Linked DNA regions of Homo sapiens: region 2 is linked to region 1. The links are contacts of gene promoters, found by promoter capture Hi-C in blood cells and fetal thymus (Javierre and others, 2016). All regions are on one chromosome and are shown on one strand. Each heading gives the region's core, a stretch centred on a gene start or on the middle of the fragment in contact. The rest is flanking DNA. Distances are from core to core; before and after follow the strand shown. Region 1 holds the start of MCPH1 (microcephalin 1). Region 2 overlaps MCPH1 (microcephalin 1).

The links. The method cuts DNA at HindIII sites, captures the fragments that hold promoters and counts their contacts. A CHiCAGO score of 5 or more calls a contact.
Region 2: a fragment that was not itself captured here is called in contact with the fragment with the promoter of MCPH1 in region 1 in 4 of 17 cell types (activated CD4 T cells, total B cells, total CD8 T cells and 1 more); the score reaches 5.6 in activated CD4 T cells.

The regions. Positions count from the first base shown.
Region 1 is chr8:6,401,193-6,407,876 of GRCh38, reverse strand. It overlaps MCPH1 (microcephalin 1), which reads right to left and starts at 1,250. Exons shown (of 14, transcript NM_024596.5): 1 at 1,188-1,250. The coding sequence starts at 1,209. MCPH1-DT (MCPH1 divergent transcript) reads left to right here and starts at 1,329. Exons shown (of 2, transcript NR_040040.1): 1 at 1,329-2,171; 2 at 2,757-4,321. RefSeq lists silencers at 989-1,168, 1,429-1,508. The HindIII fragment of the contact is 9,682 bases long and covers 1-4,192 here.
Region 2 is chr8:6,518,229-6,524,912 of GRCh38, reverse strand. The region is part of intron 12 of MCPH1 (microcephalin 1); the gene reads right to left. ANGPT2 (angiopoietin 2) reads left to right here. Exons shown (of 9, transcript NM_001118887.2): 4 at 3,503-3,735; 5 at 4,922-5,049. Among named protein-coding and RNA genes, the nearest start is that of ANGPT2, 42 kb to the left of the region's middle. The HindIII fragment of the contact is 1,554 bases long and covers 1,613-3,166 here.

The DNA.
Region 1 (6,684 bases), core at 1-2,500:
CTTAAAAATGTAAAAGACATTCTTAGCTCGTAGACCCTTACAAAAACAGGCAGCAGGCTAGATATGGCCTGGGGGGCATAGTGAGTGGACCCCTGTTCTAGTGGATATCCTCTTCTCAAAACCTGATGTTTAAAAGCATTTTCCAGGTGTGCCGTTGGTCAATGATTGGGGGTAACGCTAAAAGAAAACCAGGTTAATTTAACAAAATACTAACATTAGAAAAATAGCCACATCTGATTACAGACTTTGTATAAAGCCTCTAGTCTTTACTTTTGGCTATGAGGTTTTATGACTCCAGGCCCCACAATACAGGCCCCTTTTTTCTCACGGTCAAACTCTACAAGACACGTGTCCGCTATTCCCCTCTCCTGGGCTCTTCCAGGTGCACAGAGGGTGGGACTGCGTGCGGTATCATATACTGGTTAGGACAGCAGCTCCGGTCTAAGGCCCTGTCAGCACTGACTAGCCACACACAGGGAGAGTCACCTAAACGTCCGATGCCTTAGTTTCTGCCTGTAAAATGATATAAGAGAGTTGATAGAGCGGTTAAAAAAATCAGACAATACCATACTAGCCTAAGCACAGCGCCTGGCACACAAAGACTCCGCAGTAAAAGGCGGCTCCTATTATTGGAACAATTAGCATAGAAACTCAACTGCCGCTCCTCCAGGTGGGCCTCAGAGGGGGTCGAACAGGACCAGACCCAGGAGGGCCCCACACCAACTTCCGGAGGGCAGGACTCTGCCTGCCAGTGAGCCCCAGATCCAGGGACTAAGGCAGCAGGGGTGAAAGCAGGTAGGGGGAAAGGCGGGATTTGGGGGACAGGCAGCATGGGGGAGGGAGCAGGCAGCGGGGGATTGAGGGGAACTAGCAGCACGGGGGTTGGGGCACAAGCAGTACGGGGGAGGAAGCAGGCAGTCGGGGGTTTGGGGGGACAGGGAGCACGGGAGACGAAGCAGGCAGCCGGGGGTTTTGGGGGGACAGGCAGCGGGGGAGAGAGCAGGAGCAGGGGGTTTTGGTGGGACAGGCAGCGGGGGAGGAAGGAGGCGGCAGGGGGTCTGGGGGAGACAGGCAGCGAGGGAGGGGCGAGCGGGGCTCCTCCCACGGGATCCCCCGAGTGCGCCCGCGACGAGGGGTGCCGGTCCTCAAACTCCCGCTGCTGGAGCAGGCAGCAGGAAGTACCTCACCTTTCAGGATGGGGGCCGCCATGACAGACGGCGGGATCCGGCCAGCTGGCCTACGCGGTGCTTGCGAGCCTGGCGGCGCGCGCGGGCACTGGGCATGCGCGGGGTGAGCGCGCCGCCGTCACCGCGCTCCGCTGAATCCGCGTTTCCGGGATTTCTCTGTAGGTGAGGCGGGAGGCTGGAGGGAGCTGAGCCCCCGGGGAGGGGGCCCGATTCCGCCTCGCCGCGCCTCTGGCTGCTGGGCCGTGGGTTTTTCTCTTCTCCTGGGAGTAAGGAGGACGACGGCCCCTAACCCCTGAATTAGCCTTCTATTTCCATTAGTGACTTAGAAGCTACCCGGCGCCTCATCTGGGCTCACCTGAGCTGAGGATCAGGAAGGGGAGGGGGCACAGTCATTCCCTCGCGGACGCGGCGGGACCCCAGCGGACGGCTTTGTGCGGACTTTCGGCACCGTTATGCCCCCCTAGCCCGACACCACCTGGGGCTGGCGCGCCACGTTACTGTTCAGGGCCAGACGCACCGCCCTGCCTGCTCCGGGGAGCCGGACCTCCGATCCCGGGGATGGGGGACCCCGAGACCTCAGACCCAACGGAGGGGACTCTGATACCTCAGACCCCACGCGGGGACCCCGAGGCTTCAGACCCCCACAGGGTGACCCCGAGATCTCAGACCCCCGCAGGAGTACCTCCAGACCTCAAATCCCCAGTAAGGGAATGAAAGAGACTTCGGATCCCTGAGGCAGCAAATCCCTGTAGGGGCATCCCAGGACTCAGGTCACCGCGGGGTGAACCCAGACCTCACATTCAGGCAATCCCCAGGACGCCGATCGGCTGGCACTACCCACTGTCCCGGCCACCCCCCCTGGAGCTCAAAGGCTTGGCCCTCCAGCTGCTCCACCCTGCCGGCAACCAGGCTCAAACCTGCAGCCCGCGGATCCCCTGCCCCGGAAGCAACCAGATTCGCGGGAGGTTACCTGACTGATCCAAGGTGATACAGCTGGTAACTGATGGAGATGTTGGTAGTGAAATTCATGTACTTTTAGTTCTTTCTATGGAATCTAGAGGTAGAATACATGTAAAAGAATATCGACTACCGTCTACTCAGGTCTCTGTTTTATCTGTTTATTCATTCACTCTCAGCTTTTAATAGGATCCAATGAGCCCTCTGTGGTTCTGAAGAATTGCCTTGAGTATATGCAGCCTCAAAAAACCCACTTCCTAGGCTCAGTCTTTGATCAATATTTATCATTATCACCAGTTATTGTTCTAATAAACTCTACTCTGGAAATATGGTGTTATGGTTTACTTGGGAGTGTGAGTTCAGGGCATCATTGAAGACTCACGTACTTTTACTGAGAAAGTGACATTGATCTCTGTAGATTTTGAATTAAATGATATGATGAAGTATATAAACCAATTACTTTTGGTCAAGGTGGTAAAAAAAGTTTAGTATTTGATAGATTCTTCATCTCCACGATCACAAATATTTTCTCCTAGGATTTCTTCTAGAAATATTACTGCTTTAGGTTGTATATCAGGTCTAGGTTCTACTTTTTTTTTTTTTTTTCTCCAGGCAGTTTCTCACTCCGTTGCCCAGGCTGGAATGCAGTGGTGTAATCACAGCTCACTGCAGCCTCAACCTACTGGACTCAAAGGATAAGATCTGCTTTTAATTAATTTTTGTATACGGTATGGGATAGGGACCAAAGTTCATTTTTTTGCATGTATACATATCCAAATGTTCCAGCATCATTTATTAAAAAGTTATTTTTGTCTCTACTGCATTTCCTTTGTGCTTACATCAAAATCTGTGTTGCATATGTATGTGTTTCATTTTAGGCTTCCTATTGTGTTCCATTGAGCTATTTGTCTTTTTGCTGCCAGCACCATGCTGTTTTGATTATTGTAGCTATATAAATAAGTGATGAAATCAGATAGTTTATGTCCTACAACTTTATTTTTCAAGGTTATTTTGTATCTTCTAGATTCTTCAGATTTCCTTTTAAATCTTAGAGTCGACTTCTCATTTTGCACAAAAAAATACTGCTGGGATTTTGATTGAGATTGTGTTGACTCTACAGATGAATTTGGGGAGAATTGACATTTTAACCATATTGAATCTTCTGACCCATTAACATTTAGGTCTTTTAAAATTTCTCTGGCCAGACGCAGTGGCTCACGCCTGCCACTTTGGGAGGCCAAGGCGGGCCGATCACAAGGTCAGGAGATTGAGACCATCCTGGCTAACACAGTGAAACCCCATCTCTACTAAAAATACAAAAAATTAGCCGGGCGTGGTGGCATGCGCCTGTAGCCCCAGCTACTTGGAAGGCTGAGGCAGGAGAATGGCATGAACCCGGGAGACAGAGCTTGCAGTGAGCAGAGATCTTGCCACTGCACTCCACCTGGGGCAACAGAGCGAGACTCCATCTCAAAAAAAAAAAATATAACTGTTGTTAGATTTTAACCTAAGTATTTGTTTTTTTATTTTGTTTTTCTTTTTTTCTTCTTTTTTTTTTTTTTTTTTTTTTGAGACAGGATCTCACTCTGTCTCCCAGGCTGAAGTGCAATGGTGTGATCATGGCTCATCTTGAAGCCTCGACCCTCCTGGGATCAAGCTATCCTCCCACCTCAACCTCCTGAGTAGCTGGGACTACAAGTACACATGACCATGCCCAATTCATTTTTTAAATTCTTTGTAGAGGCGGAGTCCCACTATGTTGCCCAGGCTGGTCTTGAACTCCTGGGCTCAAGCAATCCTCCCACCTCAGCTTCCCAAAGTGTAGGGATTACAGGCATGAGCCACTGTGCAAGGTCTTGTGTTTTTTGATAATATCGTAAATGGTGATTTTTTCATTTGTTTCTGATTGTTGCTAATATATGGAAATATAGTTGATATCTGCAATTGATCTCATGTCCTGAAAACTTGCTAAATCTGCTTAATAATTTTTTGTACATTCAAAATGATGTTCTACAGGTAGTCGTATTGTCTATGTTGGAAGGAAAGCTTTTCCTCATTCAATGTCGGTCCTGTGTTTGAAGACCTGCAAATTAACTGATAACAACAGGTTAACAGGAGAAAAGACAAGGTTTAGAGTAACTCACTAAATAGAAATAAAGGTTTATAGATCCACTTAACAAAATGTGTTGGGAGATTTTGGAGTTTCAGTAGGAAGTTGTGGAAGGTTCTTTTGGGCTTTTGGATGCTTATGAGAATGGGCAATCTGTCTCTACAGTAGTGGAATTTACAGGAAACTTCCTCAGAGGGAGGCCAATGGCAGCTGTATTTTCTGGGGGCTCTGCTTTAGTGAAATAAGGGAAGTTCAAATAAAATTTCTTGATGCGTCTTTCTTAGATCAAATATTTTCACAGTAAAATAATCTTTATACCAACTTTTAGGGCCTGAATGGTCCACACATTTCTCCATCTGAAACTTCCCTAGAAATTTCATTAACAAAAAAAAGAAGCTAAGTTGATTGCTGTGGGGAGATGATTTGAGTTAGAAATTGTAAGATGAGAGATCTGTAAAAGGGGGAAAAACATAGATTAGAACAAGGAAACAAAAACAATGATTAATGTTCAGAGCAGACGATAAACCCAGTCTAGAGGGTAAGCCAGTTATGAAATTTTCTAGATGTTGGGCTCCAGCTATCTTTAGTGAGGATGGTAGTGGTAGGTAGTGTTGCCATCATGGTTATTTCCTAGAGCACAGTCTGGAAGATGCAGGTGTTCTGGGGAAATATTTGAAAGACCCACGTGTTGTGATAAGTCTTTTGAAGTTTCTGTCTAGCCATCCAGCTTCAGCTTGCAAGGCTTTGAGAAGGAATCAGTTTTAGTTCTCAGTGACGTCAAGTCAGTAGAGTGGGAGGAAAATTGGAAATACTGATTACTGACAAAATATGTAAGATGGCAGGATCCAGGTTTTGTTTTGTTTTTTGTTTTGTTTGTTTGTTTTTGAGACTGAGTATCACTCTTGTTGCCCAGGCTGGAATGCAGTGGTGCAATCTCGGCTCACTGCAACCTCCACCTCCCAGATTCAAGCGATTCTCCTGCCTCAGCCTCCCAAGTAGCTGGGATTGTGGGCTAATTTTGTATTTGTAGTAGAGATGGGGTTTCTCCATGTTGGTCATGGCTGGTCTCGAACTCCCGACCTCAGGTGATTCCCCGGCCTCGGCCTCCCAGAGTGCTGGGATTACGGGCGTGAGCCACCGTGCCTGACCGGCAGGATCCAGCTTTTAAAGAGGTAAAAAAATTGCTCAAAGACAATGAACAAGACTAGAGTCTGATAACTCACACAACTGGGTTATAGTTTGCCATTGAAACATAAAATTTCTCTGTATAATTACTACCACTGAGATCAAAGATAAACAAAGTAAGATTACTCTTGTTTACAAAATAAGTCTTGTCTCATTAAATTTGGCCTGATCATTTACATAAGTCCAGCAAGAATGATAATTGACCACAGGAGCCTTTTTAGGTTTGCTTGGCTGGAACTTTTATAAGGAATCTCAGATTAGAGTTTTAAGACTACACCTACACAGCCAGGCGTGGTGGGTCACGCCTGTAATCCCAGCACTTTGGGAGGCTGAGGCGGGTGGATCACAAGGTCAGGAGTTCAAGACCATCCTGCCTAACCCGGTGAAACCCCGTCTTTACTAAAAATACAAAAAAATTAGCCGGGCGTAGTGGCGGGTGCCTGTAGTCCCAGCTACTCGGGAGGCTGAGGCAGGAGAATGGCATGAACCTGGGCGGCAGAGTTTGCAGTGAACCGAGATTGCACCACTGCATTCCAGCCTGGGGGACAGAGTGAGACTCCATCTCAAAAAAAAAAAAAAAAAAAAAAAAAAAAGACTACACCTATACTATCTGTAGTTTCAGATAGAGAAATGTGGGGATCCATTCAGACCCTAAAACTGTTGCTCTTCTTGAGGTTTCCAAAACATCTTAAGGCCCTGGGCCTGCGAGTAAGTAACCCATCTTACTCACCTGTAAGCCTGGAACCCTGTAAGTCAGGTAAGGCACCAGGTCAATTATTTCAGCAGAGCTTTGTAAGCATTGGCTCCATCAAGTCAACCTTAGTTTCTTAAAAATGTCTGGTCACGTCTAATTCTGTGCACATCAGTCTCAAATATGACCTTCTAGTCAAAGTCTTGGTAACATAATCAATTTTTCCAAATAATGTCCTTTTTTAAGGAGAACAGATTCTTCTTGAATTTATGCAAACAACTATATTGCCATGAGAATAGGAATATTCAATAAGAATTGACAAATTTTAGAGGAAGCAGGGAGAAAAAGATAAATTTTTCATTTCTACTTATGAAAGTTTATTAAATTGTTATCATTTGTGGATAGCTTAAGAGAAAAGAGAAATCAAAGGATGTATCACAACAGTTTGGGGTTTTCAATTATTTCTCCAGAACACTTGCATCTTCCAGGCTCTGCTCCAGAAAATAACCATGACTCCAACATACCACTACCATCCTCACTAAAGATGGAACCCC
Region 2 (6,684 bases), core at 1,140-3,639, 120 kb before region 1:
GGATTCCCAGCCTAAGGCTACTTCCTTTCACCTGAAGGTGCTCGTGACACCAAAGGTGACTTCTCAGGGTCTCCATTTTCTCTTCAGTGAAACCATGATCTTCATATGTATTCCCTGTGATAACTTCTATTTACAGACCTTACATGGCCACAAGGGTAGTTTTTCCTCAAGGGAGACATTCATAGCCTTGTCTTTTTAGCTTGATGATGTGAAGACCATCAAAACATCTAAATTTCCGCAGGCTTAAGACTATGGTTCATGATGCTTTCATTTCTTGATTTTTCTCCAAAACCCTAAAAAACACCTCGTACATGGTAGGTGTTCAATACATCTCTGTTAAACGGAAGGTAAGACGTGATCTGAACCCAACTATCACTCAGTGAAACGTGTATGTCAATTTCACATGCTTTCGGTTCCTAGGAAAGTAAGTGCAAAGTGACTCAGGAGGCTTCAGATAACTCACAGCAGTGTTAAATGGCCGGTTCAAGGTTTCTTTATCAAGCAGGTGGGAAAATAATGTTTCTCTGCTCTTCATATGCCTTCGCAGAAAAGCTAGTGAAATGTATAGAATATTTCACCAGCTTCTAATGTGACATTAACAGAAGCTGTGGTAACTTGTTAGTAGACAGAAAATAATTCTGAAACATAAAGATGCCATCATTGACATATTTCATTATTAAATAAGACAGCTGACTTATACGGGACTCAAAAAAGGGAATATGAGGTCCCCTTCCTTTAAAACAAAACTCTGCAATGTGCAAATTCATGTGTACTAAACTTTATATTGGAAGGAAAATGTCAGAGAGAGGAATCTGACATCTGGTCACTGTTTTTCTATTTTTAAAAGTGTCTATATTTTGAAAGCTTTATTTACTGGCCTTGTACAAACAAAATGAAGATATTGAAACATCTTTAGTTGCTGCTTTTCCTGCAATTATCACAGAAAGCCTCTTTAGGTGCTGAATAATGTAGTGTCAGGCTATCCAATTTTCCTCTTGTATCTTATTAAAAAAAAAAAAAAATGCCAGCCAGGCACGGTGGCTCATGCCTGTAATTCCAGCACTTTGGAAGGCCGAGGTGGACGAATCAGGAAGTCAGGAGTTCGAGACCAGCCTGGACAACATAATGAAACCACGTCTCTACTAAAAATACAAAAAATTAGCTGGGCGTGGTGGCACACCTGTAATCCTAACTACTCAGGAGGCTGAGGCAGGAGAACTGCTTGAATCCGGGAGGCGGAGGTTGCAGCGAGCTGAGATCGCGCCACTGCACAACAGCCCAGGCCACAGCGCGAGACTCCGAGACTCCATCTCAAAACAAAAAACAAAAAACCCTGCCAAATACCTTGACTGTGCATGTCTTTGAGTTTGTTCCTGGGAAACAGTTAACATTCTCAAATACATAGTCTCTACTCTCTTGGATTTGTTTCCTCTGGCTTAATGGACAGGAACTATTTTTAGTTTAAAAGTGGTATGCTCTTCATTGAACATATTTATAGCAATGTATGTTTATAAGTTGAAATTAGGAAGGCAAACTATATAACCATTAATAAAGTATCTTAGGACTTACATGGCATAATTTTACCAGCTCTCTAAATAATTTTTAAAAAGCTTTTCTGCCAGGCGTGGTGGCTCATGCCTGTAATCCCAGCACTTTGGGAGGCAGGGGCGGGCGGATCACGAGGTCAGGAGATCGAGACCACCCTGGCTAACACGGTAAAAGCCCATCTCTACTAAAAATACAAAAAGTTAGCCTGACATGGTGACATGCGCCTGTAGTCCCAGCTACTCGGGAGACTGAGGCAGGAGAATAGCTTGAACCTGGGAGGTGAAGGTTGCAGTGAGCCAAGATGGCACCCTTGCACTCCAGTCTGGGTGACAGAGCGAGACTCCATCTCAAAAAAAGAAAAAAAAAAACTTTTCAAGGGCTTGGCTCACATATTAACTGTTATGTATTAAGTACATGCCATAGCGCTGGTTAGATTTTTTAGAGAAGGAATGGGGCCACATTAAAAGGAGAGAAGCAGATTTCAGAGTCAGAAAGTTCTGGGATTGTATTCTGCCCCTGCCACCTGCTGTGTGTGACTTTAGGTATGTGATTCATTCTTCCTACATTTCTTTTCTTTTCTTTTTTTTTTTTGAGACGATGTCTCGCTCTGTTGCCCAGGCTGGAGTGCAATGGCATAATCTCAGCTCACTGCAACCTCCACCTCCCGGGTTCAAGCAGTTCTCCTGCCTCAGCCTCCTGAGTAGCTGGGATTACATTCATGTACCCCCACGCTTGGCTAATTTTTGTATTTTTAGTAGAGAGAGGGTTTCACCATGTTGGCCAGCCTGCTCTCAAGCTCCTGGACTCTAGTGATACACCTGCCTCAGCCTTCCAAAGTGCTGGGATTATAGGTGTGAGCCACTGAGCCTGGCCCTCAATGTCCCTAAGTTTCAATTTCCTCATTGGAAATGGGAATAATAATGTCTATATTAACGTTAACAAACATTCATTGACTGTTAATGTATGACAGGCGCTAGTCTAAGCGTTTACATTTTTTTTTCTTTTTTTTTGAGACGGAGTCTCGCTCTGTCGCCCAGGCTGGAGTGCAGTGGCATGATCTCAGCTCACTGCAAGCTCCGCCTCCCGAGATCACGCCATTCTCCTGCCTCAGCCTCCAGAGTAGCTGTGACTACAGGCGCCCGCCACCACGCCTGGAGAATTTTTTGTATTTTTAGTGGAGACGGGGTTTCACCGTGTTAGCCAGGATACTCTCAATCTCCCGACCTCGTGATCCGCCCGCCTCGGCCTCCCAAAGTGCTGGGATTACAAGCGTGAGCCACTGCGCCCGGCCAGCATTTACATTTTAAAACCCATTTGTTCCTCACACCAACCCCATGACCTAGGTGATAGTATCCTAATTAACAGGTGAGGACATTAACGCATAGGGTGACTAAGTAAACTGTTCCAAGTCGCAGGGCTGGTAAGCCAGTACTTGAGTCTGGGAGAAGTATTCACCTCCCCATGAAGGAGTATTTCTCACATAGCATTAAGTGCTATTATTATCATTAGGATTAATATTAAAATATAAATAGTTTAGGAGAAAGCTAATATCCTACCCAAGGGTCCAGCCCAGTTGAAACTCTCCCTTCTCAAAAAAGCACTTCATGAGCACTAAGCTTGAAAGAGCAGCACCTTTCTTCTGAGCGCTGCAGCATCTAATACAAAAAACACCCATATCCCACCTATCCTGGACCAGATGGGGTACCTTTTCTTGTGTGTATGCATAAGTCTGCATGTACATACATATATGCTTATACGTTTACATATATACACACATTTATATATCTAATCTTCTCAGCAAGTTTCAGAGATTCCTTAGGGCTCTGGTAACATCATATTACTTTATAACCACTACAATATCTTAACAGAGTACCTTGGAGAAGTAGAAATTCAATAAATATAAAATATTTCATTAGAATAGCCTTCACTAACTAACAATTCTTTTCCTTACAAGTTTCCTAGAAAAGAAGGTGCTAGCTATGGAAGACAAGCACATCATCCAACTACAGTCAATAAAAGAAGAGAAAGATCAGCTACAGGTGTTAGTATCCAAGCAAAATTCCATCATTGAAGAACTAGAAAAAAAAATAGTGACTGCCACGGTGAATAATTCAGTTCTTCAGAAGCAGCAACATGATCTCATGGAGACAGTTAATAACTTACTGACTATGATGTCCACATCAAACTGTAAGTTTACATATCATGCTTTCTTCAGCGTTAATAACCTTTAGTCAGTAAAACACTCAAAAGACTAAAAAATTCTCACCTTTCAGAAAAGGCGCTATTTCTCATATATTTCATATGAAATATCTACCAATTAAAATGAAGGAAGAAGAGAAGGGGAAATATATGTTATACTAATTATTATGAAGCAAACACCCCAAGCATACTTTTGATTCATGGCAGTAAAGAGCCTACTTTTAGTTAGTTCCATCATTAATTAGAAGGATGAGACTGGGCAAATTACTAAACCACAGCCGATATTCATTTATTTAGGTTTTACATGGGAAAAATAATATCAGACCCATGGGATGGCCATTAAGATTAAATGAGATAATACAATGGCACTTAAGAGATGCTAGTTCCCTTATCTTGCCAGGTTCTTAAGCACATTTTGCCTTCCTTATTATTGTTTCACTTTGCAGCGTCTCTTATATATTGGAGGGAAGGGCCAGGTGTGGTGGATCACGCCTCTAATTGCAGCACTTTGGGAGGCTGAGGCAGGCAGATCACTTGAGGACAGGAGTTGGAGACCAGCGTGGCCAACATGGTGAAATCCTGTCTCTACTAAAAATACAAAAATTAGCTGGGCTTGGTGGTGGGCACCTGAAATCCCAGCTGCTTGGGAGGCTGAGGTAGGAGAATCACTTAAACCTGGGAGGAGGAGGATGCGGTAAGCTGAGATGTGTCACTGCACCCCACTATGTCCTCAGTGGGATAATGGCCTGAAGGGGCAGGCAATGGGGTCATGATACAGATAACAGTGTTTAGGGACATTCTTTTTAAATTCTTCCATACTAAGTTTACCCTATTCTGCTCAAGATGAAAGATCTTCAAAAGTAATAATTTAATTTATGTGATTGTGAAGTACTTTCATTACATGTAATTGATCATCAGCAAAGGAAGTTTGGATTATTTGAAGTATTTTAATTACATGGAATTAATGACCAAAAAGTAAGTATTAATCTTTTGAGAATTAAGAAGAAAACAGGCTGAAAGGAAACTTTCTAGAAAGGTTAAAAAAGTGGTACAGCCTTTTGCTTACTTAAGAATTCCAAAGTAATAAAACTCACCAAATGATTGGCTCTTGAAATAACAAGTCTTTGTCTTTTCATGAACTCCGTTTAAATGCCTTACTATTTTTTAAAAGCAGCTAAGGACCCCACTGTTGCTAAAGAAGAACAAATCAGCTTCAGAGACTGTGCTGAAGTATTCAAATCAGGACACACCACGAATGGCATCTACACGTTAACATTCCCTAATTCTACAGAAGAGATCAAGGTGAGGTATTCGTCTCCCCTTACTAACTCCCTGGCTCTAGGCAGGCCACTTTAGTGAGTGAGGAACCAGAGAGCAGAAGTCTCTCCCCAAAGATCTTCCCCAGCCTCACACAGTACAAAGCCATAGTTACTGGGCAGCTACCTCGCCTAGAGTGCTTGCCAAGGGCTCTAAGTGCCGCTGCTGTGCAGAAAATACAAAAGCTGCATATGAATGATGTAGAAATGTCTATCTTATCTTCGGCAAGAAATACATTCTCCTTGCATTTTGCTTGAATAATGCATACTGTCAGTTGTTTTTCCTGAGGTGTCAGACTCATTTCCTTAAAGAAAGTATCTTCCAAAAACTGAAGGTTGAACAACCATAGTGCATCAGCCATAGAGGTGTCATGAAATTAATAATTTCTACTGCTGTGTCAAAGTCATTTTTCAGTGATATTATTGTTCCTTTCTTTTTTGTGTGTGACTGCATAGTGACTTGTACAGTTAGCTACCGCTGCCCTGCCTCACACGGGGATGGTGGCAGTTTTACCCACCATGGTTTTTGCTCTATCTGAGCAAACGCTAACACAGTGCCACAGACCGGTGGTGTCTTAGCATCGTGAAAACAGTTTCAACCTGTGGACTTGGTGACATGGTCTGAGGGACACGCAGGATTCTGAGGTCCACACCATGAGAACCGCTGGGGAAGGCGATTCTAACCTCATCTAACGCAGTCTGGAAGACTCGAAACACACCATAAAGACAGTGTTCATTTTCTTCTCCAGCAGCGGAGTTCACTTCAAGGCATATGTCCAATTACTGCATGTAACGTGAGTGGACAGTCAGTACTCACAGCAGGCAAAGCCACAACACAGCTTACCTCAGTCATTCCTAGTTCTGCAGCCTCACTCAGAGAGCCTGACTCCTGAAGGTGCTTTGGGAGACACTGAACTTTAGATAAGGAAAAAAAAAAACCCTTCCGGAGAATATTTCAATGTGGCTTCTCTTAAACATTTGATAGGGAAGAATGATATTACAGGAGAATCAGTGTGGTGAAGTGTTATGTAACTACTGGATAACTGTATATATTAAATGTCTATAAATATGTTTGCATATAAATGTAAAAGCAGCTACATATTGAACCAACACAAATAACTACAGAGAATACAGTGGATACTGTACCAAAGTGGAAATTTTCGAGGCTCTTGGAAGTATTATCTCTTTAAATTGAGTATTATCCTAAGTATTTAAAACAGTATCAAAGAAAAACACTTTAAAAATACAAGCATTAGGGTTTTAAAGACCTGGAACTTGAAACAGTAACATGTATCTTGATTATGAACGGAAAAGATAAATATTGTGCTATTCAACATAATGCTTTCCAAAGAAACCTTTCTAATTCATTAATGCTGTGTTAAATCAACCCTGAAAATTAGTTAATGTCCCTAACGCCCTAGAAGCCATACAACAGGGAAGGAAGGGAACAAACCCACAAACAACACAGTCTGCTGCAGATGAAAAGGCAACGAACAGACTCTAGGCTAAGCCTTTCAATCTCTTTTGCTATCTGGTTTTCATGACAATTCTGTGCATGCCATTGTCTGTCACCAGATGTTGGCGTGTTCTTGGCCTGGGGACAGGAGTGTCAAGAGGGGGG